Regions from separate parts of the Homo sapiens genome. Here regions 1, 2, 3 and 4 are each linked to region 5. Evidence: promoter capture Hi-C in 16 types of primary human blood cells and fetal thymus (Javierre and others, 2016). All regions are on one chromosome and are shown on one strand. The core of a region is centred on a gene start or on the middle of the fragment in contact, and the rest is flanking DNA. Distances in the headings are between cores, read along the strand shown.

Evidence for each region. The method cuts DNA at HindIII sites, captures the fragments that hold promoters and counts their contacts. A CHiCAGO score of 5 or more calls a contact.
Region 1: a contact is called between the fragment with the promoter of DRAM1 here and the fragment with the promoter of UTP20 in region 5, in 1 of 17 cell types (monocytes). The highest score is 5.1, in monocytes.
Region 2: a contact is called between a fragment that was not itself captured here and the fragment with the promoter of UTP20 in region 5, in 2 of 17 cell types (activated CD4 T cells and total CD8 T cells). The highest score is 5.2, in activated CD4 T cells.
Region 3: a contact is called between the fragment with the promoter of GAS2L3 here and the fragment with the promoter of UTP20 in region 5, in 1 of 17 cell types (monocytes). The highest score is 7.3, in monocytes.
Region 4: a fragment that was not itself captured here is called in contact with the fragment with the promoter of UTP20 in region 5 in 4 of 17 cell types (fetal thymus, naive CD4 T cells, naive CD8 T cells and 1 more); the score reaches 7.0 in fetal thymus.

The regions. Positions count from the first base shown.
Region 1 is chr12:101,875,991-101,878,834 of GRCh38, forward strand. It overlaps DRAM1 (DNA damage regulated autophagy modulator 1), which reads left to right and starts at 1,590. Exons shown (of 7, transcript NM_018370.3): 1 at 1,590-1,930. The coding sequence starts at 1,800. RefSeq lists enhancers at 994-1,776, 1,567-1,616, 1,777-2,558, 2,197-2,286, 2,427-2,476 and silencers at 1,227-1,386, 1,637-1,976. The HindIII fragment of the contact is 18,310 bases long and covers 1-2,844 here.
Region 2 is chr12:102,051,416-102,054,251 of GRCh38, forward strand. The region is part of intron 2 of WASHC3 (WASH complex subunit 3); the gene reads right to left. Among named protein-coding and RNA genes, the nearest start is that of WASHC3, 9.2 kb to the right of the region's middle. The HindIII fragment of the contact is 4,399 bases long and covers 1-2,836 here.
Region 3 is chr12:100,572,219-100,575,092 of GRCh38, forward strand. GAS2L3 (growth arrest specific 2 like 3) reads left to right here and starts at 1,466. Exons shown (of 10, transcript NM_174942.3): 1 at 1,466-1,567. RefSeq lists a silencer at 1,311-1,440 and an enhancer at 1,471-1,760. The HindIII fragment of the contact is 13,205 bases long and covers 1-2,874 here.
Region 4 is chr12:101,839,246-101,842,269 of GRCh38, forward strand. No RefSeq gene overlaps it. Among named protein-coding and RNA genes, the nearest start is that of GNPTAB, 9.8 kb to the left of the region's middle. The HindIII fragment of the contact is 1,998 bases long and covers 714-2,711 here.
Region 5 is chr12:101,278,621-101,281,409 of GRCh38, forward strand. UTP20 (UTP20 small subunit processome component) reads left to right here and starts at 1,485. Exons shown (of 62, transcript NM_014503.3): 1 at 1,485-1,707; 2 at 2,496-2,576. The coding sequence starts at 1,663. RefSeq lists enhancers at 1,184-1,775, 1,509-1,558. The HindIII fragment of the contact is 7,469 bases long and covers 1,225-2,789 here.

The sequences.
Region 1 (2,844 bases), core at 340-2,839, 600 kb after region 5:
CACCCAGGCTGAAATGCAGTGGTGTGATCTCAGCTCACTGAGAAAACCTCCATTTCCCAGGTTCAAGCGATTCTCCTGCCTCAGCCTCCTGAGTAGCTGGGATTACAGGCGTGAGCCATGATGCCTGACTAATTTTTTGTATTTTTAGTAGAGATGGGGTTTCACCATGTTGGCCAGGCTGGTCTCGAACTCCTGACCTCAGGTGATCCACCCACCTTGGCCTCCCAAAGTGCTAGGATTACAGGCATGAGCCACCACGCCTGGCCTAATTTTGTTATTTTGATCTATGAGTGTCCTCGTCCTGAGGGTACTATTACTATTTCATCTTTGTAGCCTAGCATGGCGCCCATGAAATGTGTTTGTGGCTGAAAGGAACCTATCTTTGGTCACCAATGACCCAACAATTTTGGCCACATATGTTGGGCTCAGACTCCCTAAACTATCAAAATCATGTGCTTATATTATAAGTGCCTCCAGAACACAAATCCCTTTCACAGGGCTTGAAATGTATCAAGTCACTATTAATCATCTTAGGCCAAGGCTCCGAGTCTGGGCTACTCCAGAACCTGGAGGGGAGTTTTTTTTGTTTTTTTTTTGTTTGTTTGTTTTTTGAGACAAGGTCTTGCTCTGTCACCCAGGCCGAGTGAAGTGGTGTGATAAAGGCTCACTGCAGCCTCGACCCCCAAGGCTCAAGTGATCATCCCAACTCAGTCTCCCGAGTAACTGGAACCGGCTTTTTTTCTTTTTCATTTTTTTTTTTTTTTTTTGTAGAAGAGGGGTTTCGCTATGTTACCCAGGCTGATCTCTAGTTCTTGGGTTCAAGCGATCCTCCCAACTCGGCCTCCCAAAGTGGTGGCATTCCAGGGGTGATGGCTTTTGGATGCCTCCCAAAGTGATGGCTATTCACGGCGCCCGGCCTGGGAAATCTTATTTCCAGGAAATATTCTCCAGTTGCGCTCTCCTGGAAAGCAGCACAATGGGCCTCCCGGCTCCGTGGGCGCGCAGTCCCACCCGCCTGCCCCGCACCCCACCCGCGTACTCTCCACCCCACCCGTTCCCACCCTGTCTGGGTTTTCGGGTGTTCACCATTGAGGTGGGAGCCACATCTGCGCCCCGTGACCTGGCGAACCTCATTGAACACTTCTGCCCGACCCCCGCAGCAGCAGCGCGACCGGATGGCATGGGTGTCACCACGCGGTGGCCACTCTCACTGCTGCGAAGCGCCGGCGGCGGGACCTCGGAGGGGGCGCCCTCGGGGTGCGAGGCCCGGCACTCCGGAAATCCCCCGGGAGGGAGGGGTTGGGAGAAATAAATCCTTTTCTCCAGAGTTGCGCAAGAGCCAGCGCGGTAGGGCCAGAGTGGGAAGGCCAGAGCGGGCGTCCCCGCCAGTGACCCCACGCCGCCCGTCCGCGCCCAACCCGGCCTCCGCCGAGTGTCCAAACCAAAAGCGAAAGGAACCCGACCCCGCGTCCCCTCCGGCGGCTCCGTAGTCGCGTCCGCTTGGAGCTCGCCGGGCGCCTCCGACCCTGCCGGGCCGCTTTGTGACTTCACTCGTTTCGCAACAAGCCCGGGCAGCCCGCGCCCCACCCACTCTGGCCCGGCAGCCTCGCCGCCCGCAGCCTCGCTCCGCTCCTCGCGCTTCCCCTCCCTCCGGGGCTGGGCCTGCCCCGGCCGTCGCGGAGCCTCCCCTCCCACCGTCCGTGAGTGTACGCGCCCGGCCGCCGCCTCCAGGCAGCCCGGAGCAACCCGGCGCCCGGCCCCGCTGGGCGCAGCACTCCGTCGGCGGCGGCGGCGGCGCGATGCTGTGCTTCCTGAGGGGAATGGCTTTCGTCCCCTTCCTCTTGGTGACCTGGTCGTCAGCCGCCTTCATTATCTCCTACGTGGTCGCCGTGCTCTCCGGGCACGTCAACCCCTTCCTCCCGTATATCAGGTGAGTGGCAGGGTGGGCGTCAGGGCCCCAGGAGCAGGCACAGGGACCACAGGGAGCGCTGCCGACGGGGAGGGAAGGCGTCCGGACCCAGCTTGGGGCGTCGTGTGGTCAGGCAGAGGTGGGAGCAGGAGGAGAGGTGCTCCCGATAGCCTGGGATGTTTAGGGAGGCAGCGGGTGCGGCGCTGAGCACTTCTGCCTGTACCCGGAGCATGGAACAGGGTGGCAGCAAGGAGAGGTTCAGGATAGATGGTAGAGCTTTCATTCTGGGTATGGGACAGAATCTCAGCAGGACGTTCTTAGGCGATATTGAAACAAGATGGGTTCTGATAGATGACATATATTATACAAGAGGTAGATCCAGGTATATGCTAAACAGCCACTATTTTCACTTCTGCATCCCAACATCCCTTGAAGTGGATGTTTGGGCTTATTATTCCCGCAAGCGAGCGGTGGTGTAAAGTTGATGAAATATCATCAACGTGACACTGATGTCACACTAGTTAATGGTAGGAGCAGAATTCACACCCGGCCATGCAGAAAGCAACACTGTGCTGCCCCCAGGTCTCTGGGAGTCTGGCTTAAATTCTCTGGAGCTGCACCAGACACCTCTGGGCACTGTGACCCCAAAGTCCTCAACTTGTCAACAACTTGTGACATCTTTTGTGTTATTTTACCCATTCACTTTTCCTGTGCTTTGGCCTCTACCTTCCTGAGGGGCACTTCAGTGCCAGGGACAGTGGTCTGATCCTCCTATGTGGGTTCCAGCTCAGTGCCTTTCTCATAGTGGCAGGATTCTTTAAACGTTAGAACCATCCATCCTTATCTAAGTAGTGTGACCCCTCTGGACAGGCATTGGTTGGTGAACGGATGATAAGGTTGGTGACACCCAAGGTTTGTTACTGCTATGATAGAAA
Region 2 (2,836 bases), core at 62-2,561, 770 kb after region 5:
CCTTACATTTGAATACATGTATCTTTGGAATTGACATAAAAATATATTACATCAAACAGACATAGCATAGCAAAGAAGTGAATGAGTCTAAAAATAGATTTTAATATAGCTATAAGAAGGTACTTGTACTGCACTCTCTCACTTGAAGTTGACATAAGCATGCTTCTTAATCAGATAAAGCAGTGCAATGTAAGAAAGCAATGAGATATTGACTTTTCCAGTTAAAAAATCAGTGGGAATCCAGTTCTGCTACTTTCTATCTGTGTATGTGCAGCTAATGCAGCTACAACTACTGGGGGCATGCAAAGATATGTTGAATGAATGAATGACTAAGCAAATGATTTAAACTTCTCTACATCTTAGTTTCTGTATCTGTATGAGTGGGATAACTAAACCTCTCTCAAAGGACTGACTGCGATAATTAAATACACATAAAGCACTTAGTATGATGCCCAGCACAGAGGAAGTACACAATAAATATTAGTTGTTATCTCATTGAGCAGTCTCCAGCTGACATGAATATCCAAATTGCTAAAATATATATTGTAGACAATCAGTTACAGTCAACCCTAGATTATCATACATAAAGGAGAAAAAGGTGGGACAACAGCAAGATGGGGGAATAGGACTTTCCAGCACTGATCCTCCCACAGAAACATCCATTTGAAAAACTATTCACGCACGAAAATACATTCTCAAGAGCTAAGGAGACCAGGTGAGAAATTACAGCACTGGGTTTAGCACAAAAGTAAGAAAAAACACACTGAAGAGGGTAAGAAGGACAGTTTTACAGAACTCATGTCACCCTTCCCCCAACTCCAGGCAGCACAGCATGGAGAGAGATACCCTCCAGGTGGGCGAAGGAGAGGCAGTGAGCACAGGACTTTGCCTTGGACCACAACACCAGGCCCACCCCAGCAGAACTCAGTGCTGAGCAAGCCCCCTCAGCCCAGACTCCAGGCTGACACCTGCAGGCGAAGCCTTTAGGCCCATCCTGGCACTAGGCTGGATCACCCAGTCCTGAGTTCTAGGCTTGTCCCACTGGGACCGTAGGTTCCAGACCAGCTCAAGGCTCAGGACAGTCCCAGCACCAGGCAAGACTGCATAGATTGTCTCCAGGTCTGCTCTAGGGACAGGCCAGCCCCAGTGGCCCTAGGTTCTGGACCAATCCCAGCACAGGGCTAGCCTCCATGGGCCCAAGGTTCAGGCCCACCCCAGCACCAGGTCAGCTCCTGCAGATATAGGTTCCAGGCCTGACCAGTGCCAAGTCAGCTCCTGTGGCCCCAGTCTGGCTCCTGCAGCCCATACCCTAGTGGAAGTAGGGTTTAGGCCCATCCCAGTAGGCCCTTCTGTTGGGCTGACACCCATAAACACAGGCTCCAGGACCATCCCTGTGGACTCAAGTTCCAGGCTAGCCACTATTGCCGTAGGACCCAGGCCAGCCCCATGTAGCCCAAGTTACCAGGCCAGCACCTATAATCTCAGGCTCCAGTCTGGCCCCTGTGACCCCAGGCTGCACACTTGCCCCAGCACCAAGCTGGCCCCAGACAAATCCCTGTGGTGAGTCAGGGTCTAGGTATGTTCCAGCAGACCCAGAGTCTGGGACCACCCCAGTAGATTGCATTGCCAGATTGGCCCCCATGGACGGAGGCTGCAGGACCACTCCTGCAGACTCAGGCTCCAGGCTAGTCACAGTACAACCAGGACCCAGGCCCACCCCCACATACTCTGGCTCCAGGTCCACCCCAGGGGTTCCAAGCACCAGGCCCACCTTGGAACCTGGCCAGACACTGCAGACTCAGGCTCAAGGCTCACCCCAGTGCCAGACCAACCCCTGCAGACTTAGGCTTCAAGTTGGAACCCTAAGGATCCAGGCCCACCCCTATAGAGCTAATCAGCAGGTCCACCCCAGTGGATCAGGCTCCAGGAACAACCCTACGAACCTAGGCACCAGGCCAGCCTACCCAAGGACTCCAGCAGCAAGCCTGCCATGCACCACAACAGATGGCCTGTCTAGAACCTCTGGATGAGCTTACTGGTGAAGGGCTTTCCCAGACAAAGCCAGTCTGCAAAGACTGGAGTAAGTCCTTACTTCTTCAAACACACACATACCAACACATGGCCACAAAGACCAAGAATAATCAGAGAAACACGTCACTACTAAAGAAACAAATCACCAGTAACTGACCCTTCTTCACAACGAATCCAAAATTATTGTTTTAGGGAAACTCAGTGGACTTCAGGAAAATTCAGAGAAACAATTCAATGAAATCAAGAAAATAATAAATGACCAAAATGAGAAATGTAACAGAAAGATTGGAATTATTATTTAAAAAATCAAACAGAAATTTTAGAGCTGAAAAAAAAATGTATACAGTCAAATTCAGAATATTCTAATACTGTCATGGTGATTAAATCACTTATATCTTTAGTATGAAAGTTAACAGACAAAACTATTAAAAATAATAATAGCTACAATAACTTGTTAAGGGATATGCAGTATAAAAAGATATACGTTGCAAAATCAAAAGCAAAATGTGGAGAGGTGGAGTAAAAGTGCAGAGGTTTTTTATGTTATCAATTATGTTATTATCAGTTTAAAATAGCCTGTTATAACATGTTTTATGTCAGCCTCATGGGAACAACAAAGCAAAAACCTAATAGTAAATACACAAAAGATGAAAAGTAAGGAATCAAAGTATATCACTAGAGACAATCATCTAATCACAAAAGACAGCAAGAGTGGAAGAAAGGAACAAAAGATCTATAAAGCAACTAGAAAACAATGAACAAAATCGCAGCAGTAAGTCCTTATCTATCAATAATTACCCTGAAT
Region 3 (2,874 bases), core at 216-2,715, 710 kb before region 5:
TTCATCTTTAAAAATTCAGCTCCTTTCAAACCTCTGCCATCACCCTTCAAGACTCTTAGGGGTTCCTTCTTTCATGGACCTCCACAGACTTCCATTTGGCCTTTACCATGCTGCTGAGCACTTTGAAGCCTAAGGCTGTTTTCATTTCAGTTTCTTTAGCAAGCAACAGTACATCTCATTGTTTTTGTTGAGTAAAGGAAGGAATAAATGCTAGAGAGAGATGTCATTCCAGTTCAGTGCCCACCATTCACAGATGGAGACCTGAGGCCCAGAGAGGAGACATGATTTGAGGAAGGCTAAAAGACTGAATAGGGCCGGGTGAGGTGGCTAACGCCTGTAATCCCAGCACTTTGGGAGGCCGAGGTGGGAGGATCACTGGAGCCCAGGAGTTCAAGACCAGCCTGGGCAACATGGCAAAAACCCATTTCTACAAAAAACACAAAAATTAGCCCGGTGTGGTGGCACAGGCCTGTAATCCTGGCTACTCTGGAGGCTGAGGTGGGAGGATCTCTTGAGTCCGTGAGATCAAGGCTGCAGTGAGCCGAGATCGTGCCACCGCACTCCAGCCTGGGTGACAGGGCAAGACCCTGTCTCAAAAAAAAAAAAAAAAAAAAAAAAAAAAAAAAAAGAAGGGCCTGGGCTGCAACACAGGCCTCGGGGACAAAGCCAGTGATTTTTTTAAAAAATTATTTATTTATTTATTTTATTTTTTGCTATGAAACAAGCCACATTTACAGATATAACCGACTTGGGATTGTTACACTGATGTCTAGTCTCGGCTTTATTTCAACCCTGGGAGCTAGTAAGCATCCCTTACGTTGAAGTTCATTGTTTTTTTGTTTTGTTTTGTTTTGTTTTCAGGCTCCGGTGTTTGCTGAAGAGTCAACATCCTCCTTTTGTGACTTGGGACTACAGGATTCCTCCTCATCCCTCCGCACCTGAGAAGAGGGGCCTCTCTCTGAAAGATTTCTGCTGAGGACCCCCATTCCTGCTGGGTTCCAGGCTGCGTCTCTGGAAACCGTGGCGCCCTCAGGTCAGCCAGCTCCCGAGTGGATGTGGGGTTGGGAGCGGCTCTTAACAGACCAGGATAAAACTCAGGGAAGCGCCTTCAGCTGCACCGCAACATTCCAGGACGCTCAGAAGCAATTATTACAGGCGAGGTTCATTCACCTCTCAGGCCTGTGGGAACAACAGGACGGGCTGTGGCTTTCGAACTGGCTGTCGCTGAAAGGCCAGATCGGAGGACCTGCTCTGACTGAACCACTTCGCCTTTCAGTGAACAGAGGGACTTGGCCACCGAAGCTCCGAGACGCCCGGAGGCGCAGCGCTGGACGCGCTGACAGGCGAGCGCCCACGGGTCGCGTGCTTCCCGGCAGCCCGGGGGCGGGGCCTCAGACCACGCCCCCGCCTTATGATTGGTCCCTTCGAAACAGGCGGCGGCCAGCGGCTACTGACCCTGAGGCCCAGGCGGCGGCGGCAGCGGCGGCGGTTGGTCAGGGGCGTGTTGGCCCCGCACAGATTGAGCCGAGTTGTCGCCCCGCTGGGAGAAGTGACCCTCCTGCGCCTGGTGAGTACTTCCCTGTTTGTCTTCTCTTTTCCTGGCGAACTTTTACGCGCTGTCTCGGGGCCTCCGCGCCTCAGCCTGAGGGCTCCAGGAGCCCCCCGCTCTCTGAGGCCCCGAAGCTGAGGTTTGTTGGGTCTCCCGGCTGCGGGAGCCAGTACGCTCTGCGTTTGCCTGGCTGCGGCAGTCGCGTGCTCTGATTGGCTCCTGGGGCCGTCAAGGTGACGTTGCGCCTGCCTTCACCTGTCCACCCAAGTGCGGAGAGAGGGGCGACAGGTGTGCGGGGCGGTTGGGGCTGCTGGTGTGGGCGAGCTCAGCTGGGGAGGAGGGATCCAGCCGCTACTCGCCCTGCTTTAAATCCAGAGCGGTATCAGAGCCCGAAGGTACTGTGGGATCTTCAGGGGCACCCTCATCCCTAAGCGCCTGGCACTTAGAGGGTCTGTTTTTTTCTGTTCATCATCCTCGGAAAGAATTGATGAAGTCTCTGGCCCTGCAAAGAGAAAGAGACAGACAGTTATTCTTGCCCTCTAGCAAGGTTTATAGGCTCTTCCCTGTTTTTTCTCCCAGTCCATGCAGGGTCTAGAACGCCCACATGTGCGGAACTGGGGAATAGAGCTGGAGACCCTGCGCGATGCCTTCCGCCCACAACCCTCAGTTTGGAGGACTGCCCGGGGAGAGGCTGGCAAAAGAAAGGGAAGGCTTGTAGAGTGCCTTGGAAGTCAGAGGAAAGTTTTGGAGGGCGTGCTCCTCTATGCAGTCACCCGTGGTTCCTTTCCTAATCTTTTCACACCGAGGGATTGAATGTTGTAAATTTGAGTGCTTTGTGGCATGGCATGGTGGAATAGCTGATCCCCAGTGGTTGCAAAGAGATGATTTTAGGTCAGAGCCTGGGTTTTGCTTCGCTTGTGTGAAGAGCAAAAAACAAACAAACAAAAACAACAAGAACAACAGAACCGCTTTGTGAATTGCTATCTGATCACCTGTCTTGGCACTTAAATGATTAGAAATTGAAATTCTCACCACCTCAGATTCCCTTTGGGAACAAATTGGAACTGTTTCAAATGACAGAAGTGGAAACTCTAGTGATCTGGTGTAGATGCCGATACCTGTTGTCTGACTCATCTGTTTCAAAATCTCATTAGAAACCAACTGTCATTGAACAGTAGGTGTTTGCTATCTGACATTGAATTAGAAGTAGTAATTTTTTTTTTTTTAGCGTGACAGAGTTGCTAAGCAGGGGGGCTCTGAAATCAGACTTCATTGGATATCTGACTTTAGACACATTATTTAATCCTTCTAAGCCTAAATTTCCT
Region 4 (3,024 bases), core at 463-2,962, 560 kb after region 5:
AAGAAGAAAACACAAAAACCAAACAATGAAATCTAGAAAAGAAGAGTGGCCCAGTGGCTCATGCCAGTAGTCCCAGAACCTTGGAACACCAAGGCAGGAGGATTGCTTGAGGTCATGAGTTCAAGACCAGCCTGGGAAACATATTGAGATCCCCATCTCTACAAAAACTTTTTAAAGAAAGAAATTAGCCAGGCATTGTGGCCCGTGCCTGTAGTACCAGCTACTCAGTACTCAGGAGGCTGAGGCAGGAGAGTTTCCTGAGCCCAAGAGTTTGAGGCTGCAGTGAGCTGTGATTGTACCACTGCTCTCCAGCCTGGGTGACAGAGCAAGATCCTGTGGAAAAAAAAAACAAACAAACAAACAATAACAACAACAAAACAAACAAACAAAAAACCCAGGAACAATGCCTCATGCCTGTAATCCCAGCACACTTTGGGAGGCCAAGGTGGGAGGATCACTTGAGCCCAGGAGTTTGAGATCAGCCTGGGCAGCATAGTGAGACCCTGTCTCTAAAAAAATAAATAAATAAAAAATAAATGGGCACACCATGGGGTAGCCCTGCTCCACAAAGAGCAGTAAAAAAATTTTATGCCAAATAAATAAATATTTTTAAAAGGACGGAGGAAGGGAGGGGAGCAAATATGGAAAGAGTTGGGGCGGGGGGTGATGCCACCTTCTTCCTGCAACATTCCTTCATCGCCCTCTACTGGCAAAGCTTCACATCACACTCACTGCAAAAGAAACGCTTCAAAAGAAGTCCAATTCATTAATACACAGCAAGTTCTGAAGGAGTGAATTTGGAACTGAGAGGCAACAATTGATTATTGGCATATCCTTGAAGCCAGGGTTCTAGGTGTGGTTGAAGTTCTCCTAATCAGGTGAATTCACAGAAGATTTCAACCTGGAAGTAAGCTACATGGAGAGAGAGAGGCAGTGCAAAGGGCGCCTGTTTTGGCTGGAGTGAGTGAGTCAAGGCAGGTGTGGTGCAGTTGGAAGCAGCTTCCTGCCTCTGTAGAAAGCATCCTGATCCTGCTCTTTCTGATCCCGGCAGCGTCAGTAGCTCCCTTGACAGCTTAGTTCAGTGGAGTATTAGGACCTGATCTTACAAATTCAACCTAGTAGTCTCTATCTAGAATACTGTCATAGGTAAAGGCTCTTTGTTCAGACCTCCTGAGGGCTTATGGGTAGGCCAACTTAATCCCTTTCTGTTTAAATCAGTGAATAGATTCCTTAATCTACAAATAATTACCCTGACCAAAATAAGGTAAGAGAACATAGCTTGTATAATAGTAAAACTCCTTGGAATTCATTGACTCTTCCTTCGTTGCCTAGCACATTGTCCATTTTTGTAAAGTTTCAGGTTTGCTCAAAAAGAAAATATTCTCACCAATGGCTTTGGCTCATGCCTGTAATCCCAGTGCTTTGGGAGGCCAAGGTTGGAGGGTCGCTTGAGCCCAGGAGTTTAAGACTGGCCTGGGCACATCGTGAGACCCATCTCTATGAAAAGAAAAAAAATTAGCCGCGTGCAGTGGCTCACGCCTGTAATCCCAGCACTTTGGGAGGCCAAGGCGGGTGGATCACCTGAGATCAGGAGTTCAAGACGGACCAGCCTGGCCAACATGGCGAAACCTCGTCTCTACTAAAAATAAAAAAATTAGCCAGGCCTGGTGGCGCATGCCTGTAATCCGAGCTACTCAGGAGGCTGAGGCTTGAGAATCGCTTGAACCCGGGAGGGGGAGGTTGCAGTGAGTCGAGATTGTGCCATTGTACTCTAGCCTGGGTGATAAGAGTGAGACTCCATCTCAAAAAAAAAAAAAATTAAATTAGCTAGGTGTGGTGGTACAGACTTGTAGTTCTAGCTACTTGGGAGGCTGAGGAGGGAGGATCACTTGAGCTGAGAAGTTTGAGGTTACAATGAGTTGTGATAGCACCACTGCACTCCATCCTGGGCAAAAGAGTAAGACAAAAGAAAAGAAAAGAAGGAAAGGAGGAAGAAAGGAAGGAAGGGAGAGAGAGGGGGAAAGAAAGAAAAAGAAAGAAAGAAAGAAAAGAAAGAAAGAAGAAAGAAAGAAAGAAAAAGAAAAAGAGAGAGCGAGAGAGAGAGAAAGAAAGAAAGAGAGAGAGAAAGAAACAAAGAGGCTGGGCTCAGTGTTTCACGCCTATAATCCCAGCACTTTGGGAGGCCAAGGTGGGCGGATCACGAGGTCAGGAGATGGAGACCATCCTGGCTAACATGGTGAAACCCCGTCTCTACTAAAAATACAAAAAATTAGCCGGGTGTGGTGGCAGGCGCCTGTAGTCCCAGCTACTCGGGAGGCTGAGGCAGGAGAATGGCGTGAACCCCAGGAGGCAGAGCTTGCAGTGAGCCGAGATCAGGCCACTGCACTCCAGCCTGGGCAACAGAGTGAGACTTTGTCTCAAAAAAAAAGAAAGAAAGAGAGAAAGAAAGAAAGAAAGAAAATTCCCTCTGTGTATTTTTCTGTCTGTCTTGTCTCTCCTGTCTCCCCCTTAGTTCCTAATTTCTTCCCTGTTTAAGTTCTCACAAACCTCAGGATCAATATGAAGTCCACTGTGATGTACTTTGCAGAATCTACCTATTTGCAAAAGCTAACTCCTACCCTCATCTTTGTACCTGGTGTTTGAAAACTGGATCAATTTTCTGATCTCCAAGCATTTGGAACTTTCTTTAGTTTTCATCTCCTTAAAACCAAAGCTTCCAACCCCACCGGAAACAAACAAACAAGCAAACAAAACACCCAAAGCAGTGAGCACTCAATATATATATTTGATTATCCATAAATGCTGATTCTCTAATTCATTGCAATGTCAAGTTCATAATTAAATAGGGAGACTTTTGCATTTTGCATAGTCTGCTTTCCAGAATACTGTCAGGGATACTCTGATATTTTGCTATAATGCTTTGGCAGTGCTCTAGATGTATTAAACTCACTGTAACCAATCCCAGGAGCACAGTAAAAGTCCAAGTGATGCCAACCAACAAGGAAATTTCAGAGTTAATTTATC
Region 5 (2,789 bases), core at 235-2,734:
GTTTCTACCTTACTGGCTCTCTTTCCCAGTCGCAAATGCCTCACACTTGAGGTATTTAGGTGTATTTAAGTCACGTCTGCAGCCCAGACTGCTACAGTGAGCTCTGTACAACAATATATCCAATTGTCTACTTAACATCACTCCTTGACTAAAATGTAAGCATCTCAGACCAAGTATTTCCAGTCTGGGCATGGTGGCTCACCCCTGTAATCCCAGCACTTTGGGAGGCCAAGCCAAGAGGACTGCTTGAGTCCAGAAGTTTGATACCAGCCTGGGCAATATAGCAAGATCCCATCTCTACAAATAATAATAATAATAATAATAATAATAATAATAATAATAAAAGAGCTGGGTGTGGTGGTGCATGCCTGTAGCCCTAGCTACTTGGGAGGCTGAGGTGGGAGGCTCACTTTAGCCCAGGAATTGAAGGCTGTGAATATTTTCAAATAATTAATTAATACTATTATTGCCTTTCTCGTTTGGCTCCCAGAACAGTACCTGGTCCACAGAGGACTCTCAAGAAATAGTTGCTGAATGAATGAATGAATGTAAAATGGGGTAAATAATTATATTTTTAAATTATTTTTTAAAATTGTACATATATGTATATATAACTGTACAATTTAACAACATGCTATGTGTAGACATTAAAGTGATGGGAAAAACACCAAACATTAACAGCGGTTGTGCATGAAATTAAAAGATTTTTCTTAAAACTCCTTCTCTATTTTTCAATTTTATTTACAGCGTAGTGGTTAAGAATACCAAAATTTAGAGTCTGAGTGAAGACTGCCAGTTACCAGCTGCACAACCTTGGTTTCCTCTTGTGTCAAATTGGCTTAAAAATATACACAGTACCGGCCAGGCGCGGTGGCTCACACCTGTAATCCCAGCACTTTGGAAAACCGAGGCGGGCGGATTGCCTGAGCTCAGGAGTTCGCGACCAGCCTGGGCAACAAGGTGAAACCCCGTCTCTACTAAAATACAAAAGAATTAGCCGGGCGTGGCGGCGGGTGCCTGTAGTCCCAGCTACTTTGGACGCTGAGGCAGGAGAACTGCTTGAACCCGGGAGGCGGAGATTGTAGTGAGCCGAGATCGCGCCACTGCCCTCCAGCCTGGGAGACAGAGTGAGACTCCGTCTCAAAAAAAAAAAAAAAAAAGTATATATCTATATATAGATATATAGATAGACGCAGTACCTCCTTTGTATTAACATCCCTAATAAGCTTTACTGTGAAATTATGGATGAAAGGATCTTTGCACGATGCAGGTACGTAGTGAGGGACAGTAATGTTAGTTGATAACGATTACAGGTATGTTTTATTTTATAATGAAAATACATTTGTCTTCTAAACCTTTACCGAAGGGAGTGAAAAGAACACCTCACCCAAACGCCCGCCCTTATGTGCGCAGCCCCGCCTCCTGTAGGCCCCACCCCACCAAAGGGTGCGCCTGCGCCGTTCTTTTTTCCGTCCACGTGACCCACTCAGGCTCCTCCTTGTCTCCAACATGGCGGCGCCCAGGGGCTCAAGCCGCACGTGAGAAAGTCTGGGCATCTGGGAATCGGAGAGTATAGCCTGTGAGCCGCTTTCCCCTCCTTACTGTCGGTTGCATCCCTTCGACACTCCCGAGGCCGTCGCGGGCCACTGGCCCTCTGCAGCCATGAAGACAAAGCCCGTTTCCCACAAGACCGAGAACACCTACCGGGTGAGCGCGGGAGCTTAGGCAGGGAGCCGCGGGTCTCCGCTGCCTCAGTCGTGAGACAGGCTCTGAGCGAGACTCCAGGGGCCTCAGACTTCTGGGCCGAGTGTGTCACTTTCCTGGAGGCTCCGGCGAAAGAGGGAGACACTGGATGTAGTAAACATGGGTTGGAGGAGGAAAGAAGTGTGGACAGCAAGTTTCACCCATGTTTTATGGGGTCTGGCCAGTCCTGGGAATTTCCTGTAGTCCAGAATTAAATTCACTATTCCAGGAGATTGCTTAGGACCAATTCTCCCCTGCTCTTTTATCTTTAAAGACCGAATTGGGCGAGTCGGCTGGCGGTGAGTGATTCCCAGCTAAGGGCAAATATACAGCGCTTTCTCTGTTTGCCCCTTGATAGATTGTTTCCAGGTCTTCCTTAGGATACAATCATAGGTCTGTATATGTTTAAAAACACTTTTATTGCAGCGACTTTGCTAGGTCCCCATGCTTATGGGAGGGTATGAAACCTAATAGATCTAGCGAGACTAATTGCCAGCATCCACCTAGGCTCACCAGTCTGGCAATGGAAATTTTATTTGAAATGACATAGCTGAGAGAAATTATGCAAACATAGAAGTATTCATTATCTTTGAACAGTGATGCAGTAAATTTGTTTACGGCCGTATGTTTTTCAGTTTATTTTTCCACTTATCCTTTGTGATTAGAGATGCCTACATGCAGCATTCAAATAGATATTAAAGATCTGATAAATTTTAATTAATTATGTATCTTAAATATACTTTCCCTTCCAGTTTCTTACATTTGCTGAACGACTGGGGAATGTTAATATTGATATTATTCACCGGATTGATAGAACTGCAAGCTATGAGGAGGTAAGAGAATGTGATACTAGTCAATCTTCAAGTGTTCATGGTGTTTTAGTTTCTTCTGTTAGTAGAAGTGAATTGTTTTTCAAGGTATTCCTTTTTGGACATGAAATGCTTTAGACCTGTGCTGTTTCATACAGTAGCCACATATGACAAATTGGATTTAAAGTAAATTAAAAATTTGGGTGCCCAAATGTGGCTAGTTGCTAACATATTGAA